7 separate regions of the Homo sapiens genome follow, and regions 1, 2, 4, 5, 6 and 7 are each linked to region 3. The links are contacts of gene promoters, found by promoter capture Hi-C in blood cells and fetal thymus (Javierre and others, 2016). All regions are on one chromosome and are shown on one strand. The core of a region is centred on a gene start or on the middle of the fragment in contact, and the rest is flanking DNA. Distances in the headings are between cores, read along the strand shown.

What was found. The method cuts DNA at HindIII sites, captures the fragments that hold promoters and counts their contacts. A CHiCAGO score of 5 or more calls a contact.
Region 1: a contact is called between a fragment that was not itself captured here and the fragment with the promoter of KRT6C in region 3, in 1 of 17 cell types (total CD8 T cells). The highest score is 6.2, in total CD8 T cells.
Region 2: a contact is called between a fragment that was not itself captured here and the fragment with the promoter of KRT6C in region 3, in 5 of 17 cell types (M1 macrophages, M2 macrophages, M0 macrophages and 2 more). The highest score is 8.0, in M1 macrophages.
Region 4: a fragment that was not itself captured here is called in contact with the fragment with the promoter of KRT6C in region 3 in 6 of 17 cell types (M2 macrophages, M1 macrophages, naive CD8 T cells and 3 more); the score reaches 8.5 in M2 macrophages.
Region 5: a contact is called between a fragment that was not itself captured here and the fragment with the promoter of KRT6C in region 3, in 10 of 17 cell types (total CD8 T cells, total CD4 T cells, M1 macrophages and 7 more). The highest score is 9.8, in total CD8 T cells.
Region 6: a contact is called between a fragment that was not itself captured here and the fragment with the promoter of KRT6C in region 3, in 5 of 17 cell types (M1 macrophages, M0 macrophages, M2 macrophages and 2 more). The highest score is 6.5, in M1 macrophages.
Region 7: a fragment that was not itself captured here is called in contact with the fragment with the promoter of KRT6C in region 3 in 1 of 17 cell types (naive CD4 T cells); the score reaches 5.1 in naive CD4 T cells.

The regions. Positions count from the first base shown.
Region 1 is chr12:52,859,709-52,862,951 of GRCh38, forward strand. No RefSeq gene overlaps it. Among named protein-coding and RNA genes, the nearest start is that of KRT78, 12 kb to the left of the region's middle. The HindIII fragment of the contact is 2,198 bases long and covers 420-2,617 here.
Region 2 is chr12:52,918,915-52,921,983 of GRCh38, forward strand. It overlaps a transcript of KRT8 not described here. Among named protein-coding and RNA genes, the nearest start is that of KRT8, 15 kb to the left of the region's middle. RefSeq lists an enhancer at 1-126. The HindIII fragment of the contact is 2,200 bases long and covers 183-2,382 here.
Region 3 is chr12:52,472,223-52,475,509 of GRCh38, forward strand. It overlaps KRT6C (keratin 6C), which reads right to left and starts at 1,583. Exons shown (of 9, transcript NM_173086.5): 1 at 976-1,583; 2 at 1-58. The coding sequence starts at 1,515. The HindIII fragment of the contact is 8,852 bases long and covers 1-2,955 here.
Region 4 is chr12:52,966,974-52,970,130 of GRCh38, forward strand. No RefSeq gene overlaps it. Among named protein-coding and RNA genes, the nearest start is that of KRT18, 19 kb to the left of the region's middle. The HindIII fragment of the contact is 7,174 bases long and covers 1-3,157 here.
Region 5 is chr12:52,884,115-52,887,354 of GRCh38, forward strand. It overlaps the pseudogene RPL7P41. Among named protein-coding and RNA genes, the nearest start is that of MIR9898, 13 kb to the right of the region's middle. RefSeq lists a silencer at 691-985. The HindIII fragment of the contact is 218 bases long and covers 1,672-1,889 here.
Region 6 is chr12:52,944,225-52,947,500 of GRCh38, forward strand. It overlaps a transcript of KRT8 not described here. Among named protein-coding and RNA genes, the nearest start is that of KRT18, 3.3 kb to the right of the region's middle. RefSeq lists enhancers at 1-125, 1,315-1,910 and a silencer at 2,861-3,155. The HindIII fragment of the contact is 1,627 bases long and covers 729-2,355 here.
Region 7 is chr12:52,802,926-52,805,912 of GRCh38, forward strand. No RefSeq gene overlaps it. Among named protein-coding and RNA genes, the nearest start is that of KRT3, 8.3 kb to the left of the region's middle. The HindIII fragment of the contact is 4,113 bases long and covers 1-2,987 here.

The sequences.
Region 1 (3,243 bases), core at 269-2,768, 390 kb after region 3:
CTGTATAACAAAGAGACCAGAAGCTTCCCTGGTGCTGGGGGCTATGGGGAGAGCCCAAGGGAGAGGACACCCGCTCCCACTCTGCTGCAACACACAGCACTCTGCTCAGGGATGGGGCAGTGGCGTGTTATTGTTACACAAGGGGCTCTCTGTCAGGGAGGGAAGATAAGTCTGTTCTGTAGTGTTTGCCATTTTCCGTGGTGCAAATATTCCATGGCTGATTTCAAGCTGCCACCATGATGTCACTGAATGCAGAGCTGGGAAGAGATGCACACAATCAGGTCTCCTGAGTTTGCTCAAGCAGGCCCAGCACACCATGGGCCAGGGGTGAAGAAAGGGAGACTGTCCCAGGCTGGGAGTCAGGAACACACATCCAGGAACAAACTGCTGGTGCCTGAGAGAGGAAGGGGATTGGACAAAGCTTCCAACTCTGGGGGACCCTGAGAGGGGAAGAGGGAAGTGTTCAGACAAGAACTTGAGTTGAGAGTCCAGACACACCCATCCAGGGCTTAGTACCCAGCCACTGCAACCCTGACCCAATCAGGTTCAGCCAGTTGGGTGCCCTGCTGCTAGCAACAGCTCCTGATTTGGCAAATATTATGAGGCCTGTTACTAAGGACAGCCTCCCAATACCCCAGAGGGTGAAGAGCAACTTCCAGGGGAAAGTTGCCAAGATTCTTACACCCTGAGGATGTTCAGTCGAAGCTGCAGCAGGAACTCCCGGACTGGGAGACAGGGTGGGGGATTACATGGACCAGCTCCCTCCCACTCAACCATCTCGCCAGCATCTCTCCCATGGCCATCTGAGTGCTGTGCCCTGGGTGTTGGAAGTAAGGTTCTGCCCGTCTTCAAGGAACTTCCATCTGAGAGGAGATCTGTATTTTCAAAACTGCAAGCTACAACCCACTAGTGGATTGTGAAATCAATTGCATGAGTCTTTACCAGCACATGAGTGTGCATCACAGGTAGTAAGGGTAATATTGCACCATGAAATTTTGTTTGGGGTGTGTGTGTGTGTGCGCGCATGCAGAACTGTAATATAAAATGAATTTATTATTAGAGATCACTGTTCAAAAAAAGTTTCAGAAATTCCCTGACAGAGGAAGTGGTACCCACACCCAAACACACACAAACCCAAGAAAATAAGACCAGAAACAGGAGCAGCGTTAGGTGTCAGGACTTGGGGATAGAACATAGAGGTTTAGTCTGGGAAACTTTTCCAAAGGAGAGAAGTAATGAAAAGCAGAGTTAGAAAAGGGAAACAAGAAACTGAGGCATCTCTCCCAATCTATCCTGGAAGGGAGAGGAAATTCTCTTAATATCTAATCTAATCCCTAAACCCGCTGATGTGCTCTTCCCTGAAGCCCACCTACTCCTCAAAAGGAAAACCCACAGGTCCCTCCTCCAGGTAACCACCTTTTCTGGGTCATGACAGTGACACAGCTGGTCGGGGCTAGGGAGGGTGGAGTGAGCTGGGCTCGGGGGCACAAACAGCGGCATGCTGGGCACAGCCAGGCAGGAGGGCCCAGCGCTGCAGGTGCTGGGGCAACACAGAACAATACCAGATTCATGCCTGCCCTTGGGAAACGTAGACTCTAGTTAAGAAGACCAAAGTAGGCTGGGCATGGTGGCTCACGCCTGTAATACCAGCACTTTGGGAGGCCAAGGTGAACCGATCACGAGGTCAGGAGTTCGAGACCAGCCTGACCAACATGGCGAAAGCCCATCTCTACTAAAAATACAAAAATTAGCCAGGTGTGGTGGCACATGCCTGTAGTCCCAGCTACTTGGGAGGCTGAGGCAGGAGAATTGCTTGAACTCGGGAGGCGGAGGTTGCGTGAGCCAAGATTGCGCCATTGCACTCCAGCCTGGGTGACAGAGCAAGACTCTGTCTCAAAAAAAAAAAAAAGACCAAAGTAACACACACCTAGAGCAAGCCAACAGCAAAAGCATCCCACAGGGGCGTAACACTTGCCAGTGCAGAATGGCAGAGCAGTGAGATCTTGCAGATCATCTCGTCCAACACGCTGTCTCACTGCACAAGAAACTGAAGCCCAGAGAGGAAAAGCAACAGGCCAAGGACACATAAAAAGGATGGGACTAGAGCCCACTAGGCCAGGACTCATTTCATCTTGCAATATGGACAGCCTGGAACAAACCCTGAGACTAGGATGGAGACACAGGGAGGGGGACCTCAACACCCCACTTCAGACAAGCTCATTCATACTATTATCCACCCATCGACATTGACTGGGCACTTCTCAGTGCCAAGCACTGTGCCGGGTGCTTCAGATGGCAACGAATAATCCCGTCTAGGGGAGAGTGGAGTGCACCTGTTGCCCTCCAGGAAAGAACACGGGCTCTGTGACCTCCCTGACCTGCTGCAGCCTCCTTTACCATCAGGAAGCTCTCAGGTCTAACCTCACTCCTTTCTGCTGCAACATCAGCCCAGTTTCCCTTGGCCCCAGAGGCACTGCTTGCTGGCCTGACCTGACAGGTGGGGAGGGTGCTTGTATGGCCCAGGGCCCTCTCCCAGCTCCTGAGTCAGCCTGATCCATTGTTCCAATGACTCTGCCTGCTAAGGTGGCTTGAAAGCCCAGCGAGCCCTGCCAGCTGAAGCTTGTGGGTGAAGAAGGGGCAGAGAGAGGGAGAACTGAGGAAGGCTGATGTTGGGTGGGGAAGCAGAGGGGGTAGAACAGGCAGGTCTCACCCACTGCCTGGCTTCTTAAAGTCAAAGTTTATAGGGTTTTTTTGTTGTTGTTTGGTTGGTTTTTTATTGTTTTGTTTTGTTTTGTTTTTCTGTTGTTTGTTTGTCTGTTTTGAGATGGAGTTTTCGCTCTTGTTGCCCAGGCTGGAGTATTGACACGATCTTGGCTCACCGCAACCTCTGTCTCCCGGGTTCAAGCAATTCTCCTGCCTCAGCCTCTGGAGTAGCTGGGATTACAGGCATGTGCCACCACGCCCGGCTAATTTTGTATTTTTAGTAGAGATGGGGTTTCTCCATGTTGGTCAGGCTGGTCTTCAACTCCCAACCTCAGGTGATCCGCCCACCTCAGCCTCCCAAACTGCTGGGATTACAGGCATGAGCCACCACTCCCGGCAGAAAGTTTGTAGTTTTAAAGATGTAGAGGGGGGCTTGGCACAGCGGTTCACACCTGTAATCCCAGCACTTTGGGAGGCCGAGGTGGGTGGATCACCTGAGATCATGAGTTCAAGACCAGCCTAACCAATATGGTGAAACCC
Region 2 (3,069 bases), core at 33-2,532, 450 kb after region 3:
ACCTCCTTGCAGAACAGAACAGTGTCTGCTGCCTCTTCCCAGGGTAGGTGGTCAAGTGGAAGAAAGTGCTAGCTCAGCAGGGTGGAGGGTAACTAGGAGGTGGCAATTGGGTCTATAAGGAGGAGCTTATAGGATAGTAATAAAGAAATAGCATGTAAAAATCCGCCATTATGCAAAACAGAAGCTTGCAAATCCAATTCCTAGGGAGCTAGCCATGCAAACAGAGCCCTGCCTACTGACGCCCACTTGCTTTCCCCAACTCTCAACCCAGGGCTCCTTTCCCTGCCAATGATGGTGGCAGTGGTAGTGATTAGGATTGGGAACCATGGTGATCATGATGGGTTTCTTTTTTGTTTTTTTGTTTTTGAGACAGAGTCTCACTCTGTCACCCAGTCTGGAGTGCATGTAGTGGCACTACCTCAGCTCACTGCAACCTTCGCTTCCCGGGTTCAAGCAATTCTCCTGTCTCAGCCTCCCAAGTAGCTGGGACTACAGGCATGTACCACCACTCTCTGCTAAGTTTTTGTATTTTTAGTAGAGACAGGGTTTCACCATGTTGACCAGGCTGGTCCCAAACTGCTGGCCCCAAGTGATCTGCTCGCCTCAGCCTCCCAAAGTGCTGGGATTACAGGTGTGAGCCACCATGCCCAGCCATGGCTTTCATTTTCAGGGTTCCTACCAAGTGTCAAAGTGTCAGATCTCTTACATATATTATATATTATTTTATTTTATTTTAGTCTATTTTATTTTGAGATGGAGTCTTGCTCTGTTGCCCAGGCTGGAGTGCAGTGGCACGATCTTGACTCACTGCAACCTCCACCTCCTGGGTTCTCAAGCTATTCTCCTGCCTCAGCCTCCCAAGTAGCTGGGACTAAAGACCTGCACCACCATGCCCGGATAATTTTAGTATTTTTAGTGAGACAGGGTTTCACCATGTAGGCCAGGCTAGTCTTGAACTCCTGACCTCAGGGGATCTGCCTGCCTTGGCCTCCCAAGGTGCTGGGATTACAGGCGTGAGCCACCGCACCTATTATTTATAATCCTAAACTAATCCATGAGGAAGGTAACATTGTTCTCATTTTACAGACAAGGAAACTAAAGCCCAAGGTCCTTTGGTTAGTGTGACAGAGACAGGAATTGAACCCAAGTCTGGAGTAATTTTAGAGCTTGAACATTCTCTTTTCAATTATGCTGTTTTATAGTCAGGATCCAATTATGTCCATTAAGAGATGTAATAATGTCAATAACTCAAAAGGGAGGATTCAAAACATGTTTATTATTTTATTTAGCAATCCAAAAGAGCTATATTACATTTATTTATTGAGCATCTGTACTACCTCTCCTACAGTAGGGATTCTGGCAGACTTGGGGGACCTCTCCCCATCAAAATGGACAGCCCCAGCCCAGGCACGGTGGCTCACGCCTGTAATCCCAGCACTTTGGGAGGCCAAGGCAGGCAGATCACCTGAGGTCAAGAGTTTGAGACCAGCCTGACCAACATGGAGAAACCCCATCTCTACTAAAAATACAAAATTAGCCAGGCATGGTGGCACATGCCTGTAATCCCAGCTACTTAAGAGGCTGAGGCAGGCGAATTGATTGAACCCAGGGGGCAGAGGTTGGGGTGAGCTGAGATTGTGCCATTGCACTCCAGCCTGGGCAACAAGAGCGAAACTCCATCTGAAAAAAAATTAAAAATGGACAGCCCCATGAGGGCAGAGACCTTGACTATGTTGTTGACCGTCACATCCACAGCATTAGAAAGACATCTAACAGGCACTCCACCAGTATATGATGAACGAATTCACAAATGGCTGAACCAGCCTGCCAGGTAAGCCTGTGCCCAGCCAGGCACAGTGGCTCACACCTGTAATCCCAGTACTTTGGAAGGCCAAGGGAAGATCACTTGAGGCCAGGAGTTCAAGACCAGCCTGGACAACCAGCGACATAGCAAGACCCTGCATGTGTGCATATATGTCTGTAAGACAGAAAATGAGACAGAGAGACTCTAGAGAGCACGCAGCTCAGCTAAAGAAAAGACCTGCTACCCACCACTCTGTAACCAACCTGCCCCCACCCCATTCCCTGGTCTCTAAGGACTAAGATAACCCCAACTCAGATACAATGACCCATTCATAGGCCTTTAGGAAAATCTGTTGACCTGGATGGTGGGAATGGGCTAAGCCCAGGCCAGCCCAGGCCAGCTTAGCCTCAGGGACCTGTTAGTCAAGTTCCCATGGCAACACAACTAATTGTGTGTTTATGCATTCCCTACAGAACTCCAGGCAGAGGCCATCTATTCCCCAAGGCCACATTCTACCTTCTCTCTCCTTCCTTGCCTCCCCAAGTTTCCTGGGTGACCATCCAGGGAACATTAAGAGAAGCTTAAGTAGCAACAGCAGCCTCCAGAACATGGAAGGCAAAGGAGGGAAAGCCTCTCTGAGGGAGAGGACCAGTACTTCTTGCTCACAATTGTCCAGCTGCAAAAGTCAAACTCCCTAGTCCTCCTCCTGGACCCACAGTTCTATGGCTTCGATGGCTCCCACATGTCACCACACTAAACCTCCACCCCCAGGCCCCCATGGCCTGACCCTATCCTACTTGACTGCCAGCTCCTGCACAAACTCCCTCTTCACTTATGCAGTGCACAGGCCCAGGGCCCCTCCTTCCTCTCTCTTTGTGTCCCTCTAGCCTGGCTCTACCCCCAAGGACTTCCTTCAGGAAGCCCTCCCAGATGGACTATTCCTCCCAGGCTTCTCCCTCCAGCCCTCCAGCCTGGAGCCTCTGATTGTGCATCCCCAGCTGTGGCCGGATCTCCCAGAGCTGGGCATGGGTTCAGCTATTCCCCCATGGCCTAGCAGTTTCCTTAAGGTGGTAAAGCTTTTAATTCTTACAGAAACTATAAAATAAGCATTATCTGCATTCTAGAGTGGAGAACACTGAGCCTCAGGATTAAAAGCAATGTGCACTGCTTGGCACAGTGGCTCACACCTGTAATCCCAGCACTTTGGAAGGCCAAAGTGGGAGGATGGCTTGAGGCTAGGAATTCAAGACCAGCCTGGACAACAC
Region 3 (3,287 bases), core at 333-2,832:
CCTGCAGCAGGGTCCACTTGGTGTCCAGAACCTTGTTCTGCTGCTCTAGGAACCGCACCTGGAAGGGAAGCAAGATGGTCATTTTCCAGGCAAAGGAAGGAAGAAAAAGTGTCTGGTATCCAGTTTCCTGGCAGGTCTTGGAGGTCCCCATGGTGCTGGGCTACTACAGTGCATGTGGAGAGGCTCAGGCTGAGCTCTGCTCCCCCAACCCCTTCTCCTTTGCACCCCACCAGTCTCACTAGAGAAATTGTCCCATGGACCATTGAGGTGTTCTCACGCTGTAAGCTATTGATCATCAGTGAGTTTCAACATTTCTTCTCTTCTTTTTCCAGGCACAATCACAAATCTAGTTTAAAAATACTAATTACCTGATATATTGTACACAGTTTTTTTACTGATAGGATCTTAGTTAGGAGAGATATTATATGTTGACTCATGATTACATTTCAGTCTACTTTCCCATTTAGTGTCTCCTCTCAAATATTCTGATGTTATGGTCATTCTCTGTTTTTAAAATTAATTAGCATTTATCCATGTTTTACAGTTGTTTCTATGTCCCTTTTTTTCTTAATCCAGCCAGATTATCTTTTCCTTTTCTTTCTAAATCTTTTTCCTCTTACCCAGACCCCAGAGTGTAATTTACCAGCCCATATACTCCTGGCATTTGCTTTGTAATCTCTTAAACACTTCAGAGGGGAGAATTAACCTACTCCACTCTCTGATGGCCTCATCTGTGCTTCAGGGTTATGAAAAGTTACGGCTCTCCCTAGGCAGGAGTGAGGGCCACTCCAGAGATCCCATGGGGGAGTGATGCCCATCTGTGCTGCCTCCTGTGCACCGAGAGCCACCTGCACTCTCTGCAGAGCTGGGCTGAATCCCCTTCTCCCTCCCTCCTAGGTCTCCCTAGCAGGAAGGTGTTGCTCTTCTGGTCTGGGGACCCTGAAGTGCCCGATGGAGGGCATGGCACTGGCTCACCTTGTCGATGAAGGAGGCAAACTTGTTGTTGAGGGTCTTGATCTGCTCACGCTCCTCGGCCCGCACCCGCTGGATGGCGGGGTCAATTTGCAGGTTGAGGGGAGTCAGGAGACTCTGGTTGACGGTGACCTCTTGGATGCCTCCAGGGGGGCACACAGGGAAGCCAGGGCCCCCAAAGCCACCAGCAAGGCCGGCTCCACCACCCAGACCAAAGCCAATGCCGGCTCCACCACCGAAACCAAATCCACTCCCGGCGCCACCAAAGCCATAGCTGCCTCCGGCTCTGCTGCCATAGCCGCCACTGATGGCACAGCTGCCCCCTCCAATGGAGATCCTCTTGGAGCCCCCCAGGCCATACAGACTGCGGCTGCCAAAGCCAGCTCCTCCACATGCACCACCCAGGCCACCACTGCCCCTGGAGCGGGACACGGAGATGCTGCTGAAGCCAGAGCGGCTGACCCCAGGGAGCCTGGCTGAGTTGGCACTGAAACCCCGGCGGCTGCTGCTGTGGCTCCTGATGGTGGTGGATGTGCTGGCCATGGTTCCAGGAGATGAGAGGGCTGTGGCGAGCGTTGGAGGCTGGAGGCGAGAGGCAGGAGAAGCAGGACAAGGAATCGGGCTCCAGCAGTAGCTTATATATTATGAGAGAGCATGGGCTGGGCCCAGTCCTGGAAGGTGAGCTTGCAGGTTGGGAAGGGCTGGGCTTTACAAATAGTGAGATCACACCTGGATCAGAAAAGTTATGAAATGCTGAGATGGCATTTTTCACTTCCTTTAGTCAGGGAAAATGTTCCTGCCTCCAGCTTTGACTCGAGATTTCAGCACAGTAAGAGCATTCTCAGTTCATGAAGTTGAAGTTAGTCACTGTCTTCAGCAAAGGTTCTGCATGCTAGGCTGTTTATCAACATGCTGTGAGTGCTTTCCTCTTTCCAGCCTGACTTTCTTCCAGCAGAGATGTTGGAGATCACAAGCACTGTATTGCAAATGCCTTAACAGAAATATTAACATTTTTCCTGTAATTATTTTTCCTTCTGTGTGCAATTTCAAACATGTAGAGGAGCAGAACACAATGGGCCTGTATATACCTATTACCTGTTTCCATGATGATTACCTTATGGCCAGTCTTATTTCTTGTATATTTCCACCCGGTTCCCTTATCAATGTTAAATTTTTTTAAATCCCAAAAATATTTGGGATTTAATTCAATATTAATTCAATATTAATCTTTAAATGATAGACCTTTTAGAAATATAACTGAAATATTATTTTGTATTTTAAAAATGTATGTATTTATTAAGTCTTCGCCCTCAAGGAGTTGACTCTAATAAAGATGACAACACAAAAGGAGATAGAAGACATCACATCCAGTGGCATCACTGAGCTAGAAAGAAAGTAATGCTTTACTAGGAAGAAAAGAGCATAGAGAGGGGGTGTAGAGGGGACAGTGGGGAAGGGTAATTTTTTTTCTTTTTTTTTTGAGATAGAGTCTCTCTCTGTCACCCAGGCTGGAGTCCAGTGGTGCGATCTAGGTTCACTGCAACCTCCGCCTCCCAGGTTCAAGAGATTCTCTCACCTCAGCCTCCTGAGTAGTTTGAGATTACAGGTGGCCACCATCAAGCACGGCTAATTTTTTGTATTTTTAGTAGAGATGGTGTTTCGCCATGTTGGCCAGGCTGGTCTCGAACTCCTGACCTCAGGTGATCCACCTGGCTCAGCCTCCAAAAGTGCTGGGATTACAGGCATGAGCCACTGCTCCCAGCCAATTTGTGTATTTATTAACATCAATGTGTCTATTCAATTCTCCAATGTCCTTTTTCATTTATTTCCTTATTGTTTACAATTCTTTTGTTGATAAGACCAGGTTAATTGTCCTGAGTAGTGTTTCAGTCTTTGGGATTTCCTCATTGCTTACTCACAGTGTTTCATTTAAGATGCTACTGTGTCCTCTATATTTCCTGCAAACTGATCATTAAAACTTGAAGCTTAATAAGACTCTCATATACTTAGACTTTCCAGATGTGGATGTAGTAGAATGCCTATTTAAATACTGAAAATTGGCCGGGCGCAGTGGCTCACGCCTGTAATCCCAGCACTTTTTGGAGGCCGAGGGGGGCGAATCACCTGAAGTCAGGAGTTTTAGACCAGCCTGGCCAACATGGTGAAACCCCATCTCCACTAAAAATACAAAAATTAGCTGGTGTTGTAGTGCTTGTCTGTAATCCCAGCTCCTACTCCAGAGGCTGAGGTGGGAGGATCCCTTGAACCCGGGAGGCAGAGGTTGCAGTGAGCCGAGATTGCACCACTGCACTCCA
Region 4 (3,157 bases), core at 339-2,838, 490 kb after region 3:
TGCCATTGCACTCCAGCCTTGGGCAACAGAGCAAGACTCTGTCTCAAAAAAAATAGTAATAAAAATAAAAATATACTTACCAGCTCGGTGTGGTGGCTCACACCTCTGATCCCAGCACTTTGGGAGGCCGAGGTGGGTGGATCACCTGAGGTCAAGAGTTCGAGACCAGCCTGACCAACATAGAGAAACCCCGTCTCTACTAAAAATACAAAATTAGCCAGGCGTGGTGGTGCATGCCTGTAATCCTAGCTACTTGGGAGGCTGAGGCAAAAGAATCACCTGAACCCGGGAGGCGGAGGTTGCAGTGAGCCAAGTTTGTGCCATTGCACTCCAGCCTGGGTGACAAGAGTGAAACTCCATTCTCAAAAAAATAAATAAATAAAATAAAATAAATAAACAGATGGTTCAAGTTTGGCCTCTCCCAGTAGGAATCCTCTTTGTGGCCTTCCTAACATCTGGCCTCCGTTTGAAGAATTTATGACAGTATAGCCCCTGTTGGATAATAATTGTATAATTACTGGAACATTATTGTTCCTTCTACTGGGCTGAAATCTGCCTCCTACTAACCTTCTAAACTCAGCTCTGCCCACTAGAGTTACACAGAACTCCCTCTTCCATTAGATTTCAGCCATAAGTGATTATTCTTCCCCTAACCTGTATAAAAGCAGCCCCAGTCACGGTGTAAGGATTTAGCTGCACTGCTGGCCTCAACCTCACCTGCCTGAATGAGCTGGAAAATAATTATCTACACAGAAACAGCCCAAGGAATTAGAATGATAGTGATGCTCAGATCCGGGGAGGCTGTGTCCCCCTGAAGGCCCTGGTCAGATCCTGGTGAAGTGGATGGTGCTGCCACAGGAGGGATGTAGGGTAAACTTCTCAGAGACTCAGGGCACTCCAGTGATCTGGGCCCAAAGCACACAGTTCCTTTTCCTCTCCCCACAATCCACACTGGAGCAGCAGGCTCTAGTGGGCCCCTCCCAGGCTGGCAGAACTTTCCCTATCACCCACTCCCCAGAAGCAAAAAAAGTTTAAAAAGCACCAGCCTAAGGCTGGGTGCAGTGGCTCATGCCTGTAATCCCAGCACTTTGGAAGGCTGAGGCGGGCAGATCACAAGGACAGGAGTTCAAGACGTGCCTGACCAACATGGTAAAACCCCGTCTCTACTAAAAATACAAAAATTAGCCAGGCATGGTGGTGCATGCCTGTAATCCCAGCTACTCGGGAGGCTGAGGCAGGGGAATTGCTTGAACCCGAGAGGCAGAGGTTGCAGTGAGCCAAGATCATGCCATTGCACTCCAGCCTGGGCAATGGAGCAAGACTCCGTCTCAAAAAAAATAAATTATTGTACATTTAAAAATAACTAAAAGAGTATAATTGGATTGTTTGTAACATAAAGGATAAATGCTTGAAGTGATGGATGCCCTGATGAGATTATTATGCATTGTATGCCTGTATCAAAATATCTCGTGTACCCTAAAATAGATACACATACTGGGTACCCACAAAAATTAAAAACTTTTTTTTTTTTGAGACAGAGTTTCACTCTTGTTGCCCAGGCTGGAGTGCACTGGCTCAATCTCGGCTCACTGCAACCTCCGCCTCCCAGGTTCAAGTGATTCTCCTGCCTCAGTCTTCCGAGTAGTTGGGATTACAGGCGCCCACCACCACACCTGGCTAATTTTTTTTTTTTTTTTTTTTTTTTGGATTTGGAGTAGAGACGGGGTTTCGCCATGTTGGCCAGACTGGTCTCGAACTCCTAACCTCAGGTGATCCACCTGCCTCGGCCTCCCAAAGCGCTGGGATTACAGGCATGAGCCACCAGACTCAGCCAAAATTAAAAACTTTAAAAAATAAATTAATAACCACAGCAGTAGCTAGTAGCTAATGGCTACCAGATTGGACAGGACAGTGCAGCACCAGACTGTAAGCTCCCTTTGAGCAGAGACTGGACTATCTTGTTCACTCTTATGCCCTGATACATAACACAATTCCAACACATAAACAGCAGGTTGTTATTTTCTTTTTTAAAGACAAAAATTTGAAATTGTAATTTTTATTAAATTGTAAATAAAATGTTATTTTATTTTATTTAATAACCTATAGCATTTGCCAATATCCAAGGTATAAATACTGCTGTCATGGTTGATTTAAAATGGTTTAATTCTGGGAAGCAAAATTTTCAAATTTAACAATCTTCTCTTACTAGCTTTTGAATGAATAAGCAAATGAATGAACAAATAAATGAGCAAATAACAAACCAAGAGGAGTCTCTGCATGCCTCACCCAAGGAAAAGAGGACAAAGGAGAGTAGAAGAATATTTCAAGATGCCAGCAGTCCTCTCACTCTCTTTGCAGGTCCTCTTTGTTCCAGGAAAGAGAACTTAGTGGGAGAACAATTGAACTTCCTCAGCTTCGCTTCACACACACCCCAGCTTTAAGAAAGCCCAGGAAGAATTTGTTTTTTTTTTTTTTTTTGAGACGGAGTCTTACTCTGTCACCCAGGCTGGAGTGTAGTGGCGTGGTCTCGGCTTCTCAGCTCACTGCAACCTCCACCTCCCAGATTCAAGCGATTCTCCCGCCTCAGCCTCTCCAGTAGCTGGGATTACAGGTGTGCACCACCACGCCCAGCTAATTTTCGTATTTTTAGTAGAGACAAGGATTTCACCACGTTGGCCAAGCTGGTCTCAAACGCCTGACCTCAAATGATCCACCTACCTCGGCCTCCCAAAGTTCTGGGATTACAGACATGAGCCACCTCACCTAGCCTTTGGATTACAGACATGAGCCACCTCGCCTAGCCTTTTTTTCTTTTTAAGGAAAAAAAGAAAAATAAAATCTCATCTTAATCTGCTCCATTTTTTTTTCTTTTTAAAGAAACTTTCCCAAGTCACTTAAACAGTCTTCGTAATGGGAAGGCACTCAAACTATAAATCTCCCTGTCATTTAGGAATGCTCAGTGCAAATGTTTATAGAACCCGGGCACCACTTTCAACCTCTCCTTTGAAGAAGGGCTTTGTAATCCTCCTCTGGGGTCACTCCTACATTCCAAAAATGTTCAGGAAAGGAAGGGAAGGTGCCCACCAGTGGGACAGCTTAGACCCAGGTCCCCACCCTCAGGTTCGGCCCTAAGAACATAAAGATACAAGAAAGGTCA
Region 5 (3,240 bases), core at 531-3,030, 410 kb after region 3:
AATATGCCTAAGTATTGATGTTATCTGAGCATTAAGTTTGAGGATAGGCCAGGGCATGGTGGCTCATACCTGTAATCCCACACTTCTGGAGGCCGAGATGGGCGGATCACTTGAGCTCAAGAGTTCGAGACCAACCTGGGCAACATGGTGAAACCCTGTCTCTACCAAAACTACAAAAAATTAACTTGTTGTGGTGGCATGCACCTGTAATGCCAGCTACTTGGGGGGATGAGATGGGAGGATTGCCTGAGCCCAGGAGGTAGAGGCTGCAGTGAGCTGAGACTGAGCCACTGCACTCCAGCCTGGATGAAAAAGTGAGACCCTGTTTCTAAAACAAAAAAACAAAAGTTAGAGGCTAGCCACCCAGATGGCCTCCCAGAAAAGACAGACTTCAAAGGAATGGAGTCAGTGTTCCCAGGGTTTTACTTCTATAGGCAGAAACAGGGAAGTCTAACAGAGTTCCACATTTTCCATACAAAGCCCGTGCATAGGTCACACCGATTTGATTGATTACAGCTTGCTACATTCCAGAGAAGATTGCGTTAACATTCCATGAGGAGGGGTAATGATCTGAGGGAGTCTTATCTCTGACACTATTTGGTTATTTCTAATCTTTTACAGGAAAAGGAGGAAGTCACAGCTGCATGTGTGTGGCACGGGCCACATAGTTATCCTCCACTCAAGGCTCAAAATAATTTAAGTTCCAACACCTTTAAGTTTGAATTATTTAATTTCACAAGTCTTACTGTTTTAATAAATACCCAAAAGTAGACGGAGCTGGAAGGAAATGTAGTGTCAGGGGACCACCTGGAAGCCAGGAGACGGTGGCACTGCGGGGTGTTTGGCTGGACACTCCCCACAATGCCCTCCAGGGGGCGCCAGGAGCCTGGATAAAGAGACCCGCAGGAGCAAAGGTGGTGACTGTCCCTCTCCACCCCAAGGCAGGCCCAACTAGCATGGTCCCACTCGGGTCCTCTCCTCCAAGCCTGCAAGTTTCTCCTAAGTTAGAAGCATCTGGGCAGGAAAAATAATCTGGAAAAAGCTCAGGTTTAGAGCCCTTTGTTCTGATCCATGCGGCCACCAAATAGCTAGGCAACCCTGAGAGTCTGCCCCTCCGGGGCCTATAAAATGGGGTTTTAATCGGCCTCACAGGGCACATGTGTGGATCAAACAAGGCAGAGCCTTCCTGAGTGCTTTGGAAACTGAAACCCAATACAGACATGAGGAGGAAAACCTGAATGGAGCTCTTTCCTGGCTGGAACCATGGAGGTGTCCTGGAAAAACCTGAGCTTTTTTCCATATTATTTTGCCTGCCTGAGAAAGAAGTTTGCCCAAACGATACTTCAAAAGGCAAGGAGAGCCAAGCTCAGTGACTCACACCTGTAATCCCAGCACTTTGGGAGGGCCGATCACCTGAGGTCAGGAGTTCAAGACCAGCCTAGCCAACATGGAGAAACCTCATCTCTACTAAAAATACAAAAATTAGCCGGGCGTGGTAGCAGGCACCTGTGATCCCAGCTACTCGGGAGGCTGAGGCATGAGAATTGCCTGAACTCAGGAGGCAGAAGTTGCAGTAAGCCAAGAGCACACCATTCATTGCACTCTAGCCTGGAAAACAAGAGCAAAACTCTGTCTCAAAAAAAAAAAAGAAAGAAAGAAAGGCGAGGAGGAAGCTTATCTATGGAAAAGTGAAGCACTATCACAAGGAATATAGGCAGATAGATAGAACTGAGATTCAACTGGCTCAGATGGCAAGCAAAGCTGGCAACCTCTATGTACCTGCAGAACCCAACCAAGTTGGCGGTCATCAGAATCAGAGGTATCAATGTGTGAGCCCACAGGACCAAAAGGTATTGCAACTTTTTCACCTTTGTCAAATCTTCAATGGAAGCTTTGTGAAGCTCAACAAGGCTTCCACTAACATGCTGAGGATTGTAGAACCATATATTGCATGGGGGTACCCAAATATGAAGTCAGTAAATGAACTAATCTGTAAGTGTGGTTATGACAAAATTAATAAGAAGTGAGCTGCCTTGACAGAGAACACTTTGATTGCTTGACCTCTTGGTAAATACAGCATCATCTGCATGGAGGTTCTGATTCATGAGATCTATACTGTTGGAAAACTCTTCAAAAAAGCAAATAACTTCCTGTGGCCCTTCAAATTATCCTCTCCATGAGGTGGAATGAAGAAAAAGACCACCCATTTTGTAGAAAATGAATGTTGGCAACAGGGAAGACTACATCAATAGGCTTATTAGAAGGATGAACTAAGGGTCCACCATAATTTTTTTTTTTTTTTTGAGATAGAGTCTCACTCTGCTGCCCAGGCTGGAGTGTAGTGGCATGGTCTCGGCTCACTGCAACCTCTGCCTCCTGGGTTCAAGCGATTCTCCTGCCTCAGCCTCCTGAGTAGCTGCCACTACACCTGCCACTACACCCAACTAATTTTTTGTATTTTTAGTAGAGACGAGGCTGGTCTCAAACTCCTGACCTTGTAATCCGCCCACCTCGGCCTCCCAAAGTGCTGGAATTACAGGCATGAGCCACTGTGCCCGGCTACCTTGATTATTTTTCTAATCTGGTCAATTAATAAACAGTTCCTGCTTTCAAAATGAAAAAAAGAAAAAGAAAACCTGAATAGAGGTTATGGAAAGTGAATGTGCTGCCCTGGGGTGGGTGAGGGACACAGAAGGGGTCAGAGAGATAGTTCATCTCGAAGGGGATCCTAAGGGAAAGAGCATGCATCTTTATTTATAGTTTGCAAAACATCTTTACGTGCATCACCTTAATAAACATTACTGCCTTTAATCCTCATGAACACACTGCAATCTGATTGTCCCCATTTCACTGGCAGCAAACTGAAGTTCAGAGCAGGGAGGCAACATCCTCAGGGTCATAGATCCTGTGTGACTGGCAGAGCCAGGGTGCCCACCTAGGTCTTCTGCCCCCTCACCCAGGGCTTATCCCACTGTGCTGACTTTAATCATGTGTCCCTTGCAGAGGATGCCAGGGCCCATCTTCCTGAAACTGCTTCCATCAACTCCCTTCCTTATTCCCCATGCCTCAAGAAAAACAAAAAAAGAAAAACAGTCCAGGCAAGGTGGCTCACACCTATAATCCCAGCACCTTGGGAGGCTGAGGTGGGTGGAGTACCTGAGGTCAGGAGTTCAAGACCAGCCTGGCCAACATGGTGAAACCCCATCTCTACTAAAAATACAAAAATTAGCCAGGTGTTGT
Region 6 (3,276 bases), core at 292-2,791, 470 kb after region 3:
ACTAAGCCAGCAGTGGGGAATATTGTGAAATATTGAAATATTTTATTATTTCATAGAGACAGGGTCTTGTTATACTGCCCAGGCTGGTCTCAAATTCCTGGCCATAAGCGATTCTCCCACCTCAACCTCTCAAAGTGCTGGGATTACAGGCATGAGCCACCTGGCCGAATCCAGGTCTTTTGACACCAAGTGCCCTATTCATCCCTTTGCCCTCCCCTAATCTCTGGGCAGATTTGAGTGAGGCGATAGGCTGGGGGATATGGCATTGGGATACTGGGGTTGCACCTGAGGAGAAGCCAACAGCACCAGGGTCAGAATGGGCAAAGGACATAAGCACAGGCAAGGCCATTCCTGGTGGGGCTGGGCCAGGGAGCTGAGGGGCTCCTAGAAGGGCCAGGTTCCCCGACTTCTCTGAGCTTCAGCGCCTGGAGGTTTCTGGGCAGCCACACGCTTCTCAGCGCTGACCCTTCCTCTTCCTTTATCCTTGGAAAATAACCCCTAGGGCACAAACCCAACCGAAGCAATGATACTAAGTGTCAGGGCATTCCTCGACTCTCCCACCCCTGGGGAAGAGGGCCTGGCCCAAGCCCTGAGAACCCGTTCCCACCTCCACAGGCAGTGCCAGGGACTCCAAATAGGGTGCTGAAATTCCAGAAGTCTTGATATCAGACTGGGTCCTGCACCCAGCTGCCACCCGCATCCTCCCCCTGCTCCGCAGCTGCCTCTGAAGCTTGTACCCTTGCCCCCACCTCTTGTCTCTCTGCAGTCTACCTGACTGCACTTTCTGATGACCCCCACTGACCTCTCCTAGCACCCCATGTTTATTAATTACTTAAACCTAAAGTATTTACGGAGCTCCACCTATGTGCCAGATGCAGGGCTGGGCAGGAGGATTCCCATTCCACCCCAGATTCCTTTTCCTTTGGGTTCTACCCCAGATCTCCCTCTGTCTCAACAGCTCTACCCTTAACTCAGCAGCCCTGGGATTTCTCCTGTGGGAGGGCCCCCTGCATGGGTATACCCTCCACTGAGAGTAGCTGAAAGGAGCCCAGGGGAGCCTCCCAGGCGATCCCTTCCTCCCTCCAGCCCACCCCACCACAGGGCCTTCTCACTGTCTCCAACACACTGGAGTCACCCTCAGTCTTTAAAGAAGAGGATGGGAATCAGTCTCTCCCTGTTTTGTGTATAGACCCCATCCTTACACCTCAGTTGCTGTTCCGAACACCTCCCTCCTCCAGGCTGAGCAAGGAATTTCCAGCCTAAATGTTAAAGCAAAGGCGGAAGGACTGCAGGCCTTCCAATCCTCCCTAATCCTCTCATCTCTCCACCACCTAGTTTCCCCAGAGCCATCAGCTCAAGCCCTTTGTGGGAGAATGTGGAGTGGGCAGTAAGAGCTGACCCACCCCTATCGGGTCATCTCTGAGTCTACTCTGAAGTTAAACCTGCCTCACAGGTTCCCACTCCCCTTCTGCTGGACGCTGGAATGCAGGACTGATGGTGGGTGGAGAACCATTTCCCCTCTTTCCGGATTCCCCCCTGCCGAGGCTCATTACTCTTTGTGTCTGTTCTGGGAGCTTCTCACCAGGGCCCCTCCTGCTCCACCCTTTCCCGGGACTGTCCTCACAATCACGCCATCCCCCTTTCCACCTTGCTTCCCACCCCCACCCCAGAACCCTAGTGCTGGGAATCTGGAGGCCGAGACCTTCACCCCAGCTCTCCAAGAGGCTCTCTGACAAAGTGAAAAAGCCCTGAGCCACAGAGGAATCTGGAAGTGGTGGAAAGGGGCAGGCTGGTGCTGGAAGCCCGAGGTCGGTATTTGCCCCATGCTGCAAGAAGTCAGGAATGTGGCCATCGACATCAGTAGGAGAGATAAAGTCTAGCTGGCAGCTCTCCCTCTCCAGCCCCCACGCTGCACCTCCACAGGTCCCAGAAGTTTCCTAGCAGTTGGGGTGGGGCAGGAATCAGACAAGGACCTGGGAATTAGCTTGGAGAAAAATTCTAGAATCTGTTTTGATTGCTGGTAGATTTCAAAGTGCCCCAGGGTTTTTAAATGACTCAGAGAGACAGACTTCAAACCCCTTGAGCCCGTCTTTCGAATTAAATTGACCCCCTTTATCTGCCCTCCTGTATATATTGAAGCCTTCCTTACTTTGAAGGAAGGCTCCAGTACAAATAATTAGTATTTGTTTGATGAATGAGTGAGTGACAATTTACACTCACATTCACTGCCACCTGAGGAAATAGACTGGACAGGTCTTACTGTTTTCCCTGTACAAGTGAAGAAATTGAAGTTCAGAGTTAGGTGACTTCCCCAAGGTTACACAGCTAGCAAAGTATCCAGGCTGGCTGACTTAAAGCTTAGCAATAACAGTAAAAGGCAGTACGTAGCTTGTTGACTCCACATACTTTATTATAAAATACTGCCCAACTTGACAGTTCTGGAATCCAGTGGGGGAATATAAAGGTGAAAGCAGGAGAGACCCCTCTGACTGGAACCTCTTACCTCCCAGAAGCCTTGTATGCAAAACCAGTGGGCATTCATTTGTATGTTATTTTGCATCCCGTTTGCCTCCCAGCCTTCAGCAGGCCCCGACCCTCCCCTGGCCAGCTTCCACCCTGACTGCCCCCTGGCTGGCTCCCATTGAGCACTGTGGGGCTCTCCCCACCATTAGGTGACAGATCAGGAACAATCCAGGCTCAGGCTCTTTATCTGTGCTCTGCCTCCCACCTGGCAGGTCCACTGGCCAGGCTTTTCCAGGGTCCCTTCTCTCCCAGGTCTGCCCTACTATTTGTCCTCCCCTTCCCCCTCAGCTGGTAGCTCGATAAGAATCAATAGGTCCACTCCAGAGCAAAGAACACAGCCAAATGTGTCATACCAGGCCCTGCCAGAAAAACGAGCTGCTGGAGCTGACAAACTTGAAGGCCAAACACCTAAGGGTTCCCCCCAACACTTCATTCAGCAGGGATGGTCATTCAGCTTCAGGGGGCAGGCAGCATGAAAGCCTCCCTACCTCCATCCTTCTCACACAGAGGCTGGGGAGAGCATCTTGGAGGATGCAGTCCCCTGGGGCCAGGCTTCTAATCCAGACAGCCCTTACAAGGGGGGACAGGGGAAGGACTGGCTTGGAGAAAAGTCCTAGAAAAGAGGGGAGGGGCACTGGCCACCAGGGCTGGGTCGCTGCTATGATGGTCCTAGGAGTGCCTGCCTGTCCTCTCAGGCCCCATGCGATGTAGGACACATTACTTTTATTTATTTATTTATTTATTTATTTTGAG
Region 7 (2,987 bases), core at 410-2,909, 330 kb after region 3:
TGTGATTGCCAACCCCTCACTCTAGACTAGAAGTAATTTTGCTACCCTCTGGACTGTCATGTCCTTCATTTGTAACTTCCAAAGGCATTCATCTGTCTGTCTGGTTACCAAGTTCTTTATGTGCATGCTTTTATCTAGACATTATCATCTGTATTAAAAGCTCCTTGAAAACAGAGTCTAATTCTTCTTTGTATAATGGGTCCCCATTGCCCAGCACAAACTAGGCACTTGGTAAACATTGTTCAATTAACATTTGTTAAACAGCTACTATATGGCAAGCACAGTGGCCCTGGAATGTCAAGATGAATAAAGTCATGGTTCCTGCCCATAAATAATTTATAGACTAGTGGTTTGTTGAGTAAATGAGTGAATGGCTGGGTGGATGGATGGATGAATAGATGGATGATGGATGGATCATAGATGGATGGATGGATGGATGGATGGATGGACGGATGGATGAGTAGATGGATGAATGGGTGGATGGCAAATGACAGTCCAAACACTTTCTCCAGAAAATGTCTTCCCAGCTTATCTAGCTTCTCACCCACTTTCTCGAATTTTTAAGGATCAAATCCACAACACTCAAAGTAAAAAAACTGCAGATGCAGAACAATCCTACCTTGACCCAAAGCCAAACCAGAAAACCATGGGCAGCAATGAGCCTGAGTCCTGGGGCTCCCACCACCAAGACCCTTCATGGCCACAACTCTACACTCCCAGCCCTCTTAGTGGAATAACGAGATGACTGTTCAGACCCTACCATCAACACGGGAAAAAAAATGGAACAGGTGCTAAAATGGCTTTTTTCCTTTCAGCCTGCTCCCTCCCTTTGTCCCTCGTTGGCCCACTGTTACCATGTCCTGAGGGCCCACAAAGGGGGCACAGCCCCCTCAACTATTTCCCCACGTAGCTGTCTCACTAAACCCTGAACATCCACCCAAGACATGGGAGCAGCCATGCCTTATTCTGAGGTCCTCTGGTCTTAGAACACAAAGCCTGGGCCCCGTCAGCAAGTTAAAACAAAACCCCACAGTGGGACATGAAATAAGCCCCTCTTTGCTATAACCTTCTGGGTTTACTAGCAACGAGGTAGGGAGACTTCAGAAGTATTGGTGAGAACTTTCTGGAACTGAGAGGGCTGAACCCAGAGCGGAGGGTCTTGGTGAGGTGGGAGGGATCTATGCAAACATAGCAGTTGTTCAGGAGTTGACAGGTGCCTGAGCCAAAGTGATGGTGGGGCTGCAGCCAGGGCTGGGAGCCAAGATCTTGGGGAATGGAGTCAGGGCAGATGAGCCAAATAAACCAAGTTAGAGATTTGCCAACCTGCAGTTGGGCTCTTCAGATGTGAAAAGTGATTTCCGTATACTTAGAGGTAAAGGATTTAAAAGAAAAGGGAGAGCATGGGGCCTCCAACGGGGTAAATAATGCAAGCCATGTCTCCCTGTTTCCTAAGCACTAGGAGCTGGCCAGAATCCAATTCGAAGGATCAGAGAGAAGGGTGGTGTCTATTATCTCAGCAGTATATTTACCCCAAATAATCCCCTCTGACTAGCCAGCCAGTTTCAAACATATGAATCAAGGCCAGGATCCACTCTCCTGGACTGTTCTAGAAACAGAGACCAACATGAGGGCTTTTCCTTTTTATGTAAAATAGAAGACTTTTTTTTGAGACAGAGTCTCACTCTGTCGCCAGGCTGGAGTGCAGTGGTGTGATCTCGGCTCACTGCAACCTCTGCTTCCTGGGTTCAAGGGATTCTCCTGCCTCAGCCTCCCGAGTAGCTGGGATTATAGGCGCCTGCCACCACACCAGGCTAATTTTTGTATTTTTAATAGAGACGAGATTTCACCATGTTGGCCAGGATGGTCTCGATCTGTTGACCTCATGATCCGCCCCCCTTGGCCTCCCAAAATGCTGGGATTACAGGTGTGAGCCACCGTGCCCGACCTAAGAGACTTTTTATATAAATAAGAAACGCTGACACACTCACATAGCCATGTGCCTATGAATACAAACACATTTATTCTAAGATGCACATACACGCGTATAATCTACGGCCTGACCTTGCAGTGTAAATCACTGAGTTCAACCAAAGAGATGCTGAGAGGCACGGAGGGCTGCTCAGGCTGGCTGCTCCCACACTCAGGGGGCATGAGAAATGCTTTAACCTGCCCCTTGCCTCTCTGTGAGGCCCAACACAACCTGCAGCCTCCTGGTGGGTGAACCTGAGAAGCTCCACCCCTAGTTCCAACCTTTAACTCCTCCTCACCACTCCCAGAAACTCAAAAAAAAAAAAAAAAAAGAGCCCATCTGCATTTTGCCAGGGGAGGAGTGCAGCCCTTGGAAGAAGCCAAAGCCACCAAATGCAGCTGCAGAGACTTCCTGTTCTGACACATGGGGCTCAATGAGCCCTAAGACAATGGGGATATTAGGGCCAGGCTGATGAAGGACAGAGCCCAGGTTGCTCCTGGCAAAGTCCCCTGCCCAGAGAGCACAAGCCCCTGAGATTAACCCTTTGCTACTCTGTCCCCGCTTTCCCAAAGGCAGAACAACCCTGAGCCTACCTTGGATCTGCACGAGACTCCCATGGGCAAGGACTGGTCTTGGGCAAACGACGTGCCTTTCTGCCTGCACACCATGAGGCCCCATGGACACAGGGCTGGAGGAACTGGAGTCTGAATGAACTCTGCGGCAGTCAAGGGTGGGAGGCACAGTAGGGTGGCCAAGGCAGAGAGTGCATTCTGCATCTGCAGCAAACTGATTCGAGTCAGACTGCAGAGCAGGAGCTGGGAAATCTTTGGAAGAGGGGAGACTGTGCTGCTCCAGGTACTTGGAATTGGTCCAATATAGAAAAAGGGTGTCCCCAAATCTACCCAGACCCCCACCTCTGACTGTCCTCTCCCCGCTTCTGTAATTAGACAGCTCCCTCCACTCCTGCTCCAGAAGACCTGCTCCACCTCCAACATTCTTCGCCACTCAGGGACAGCAC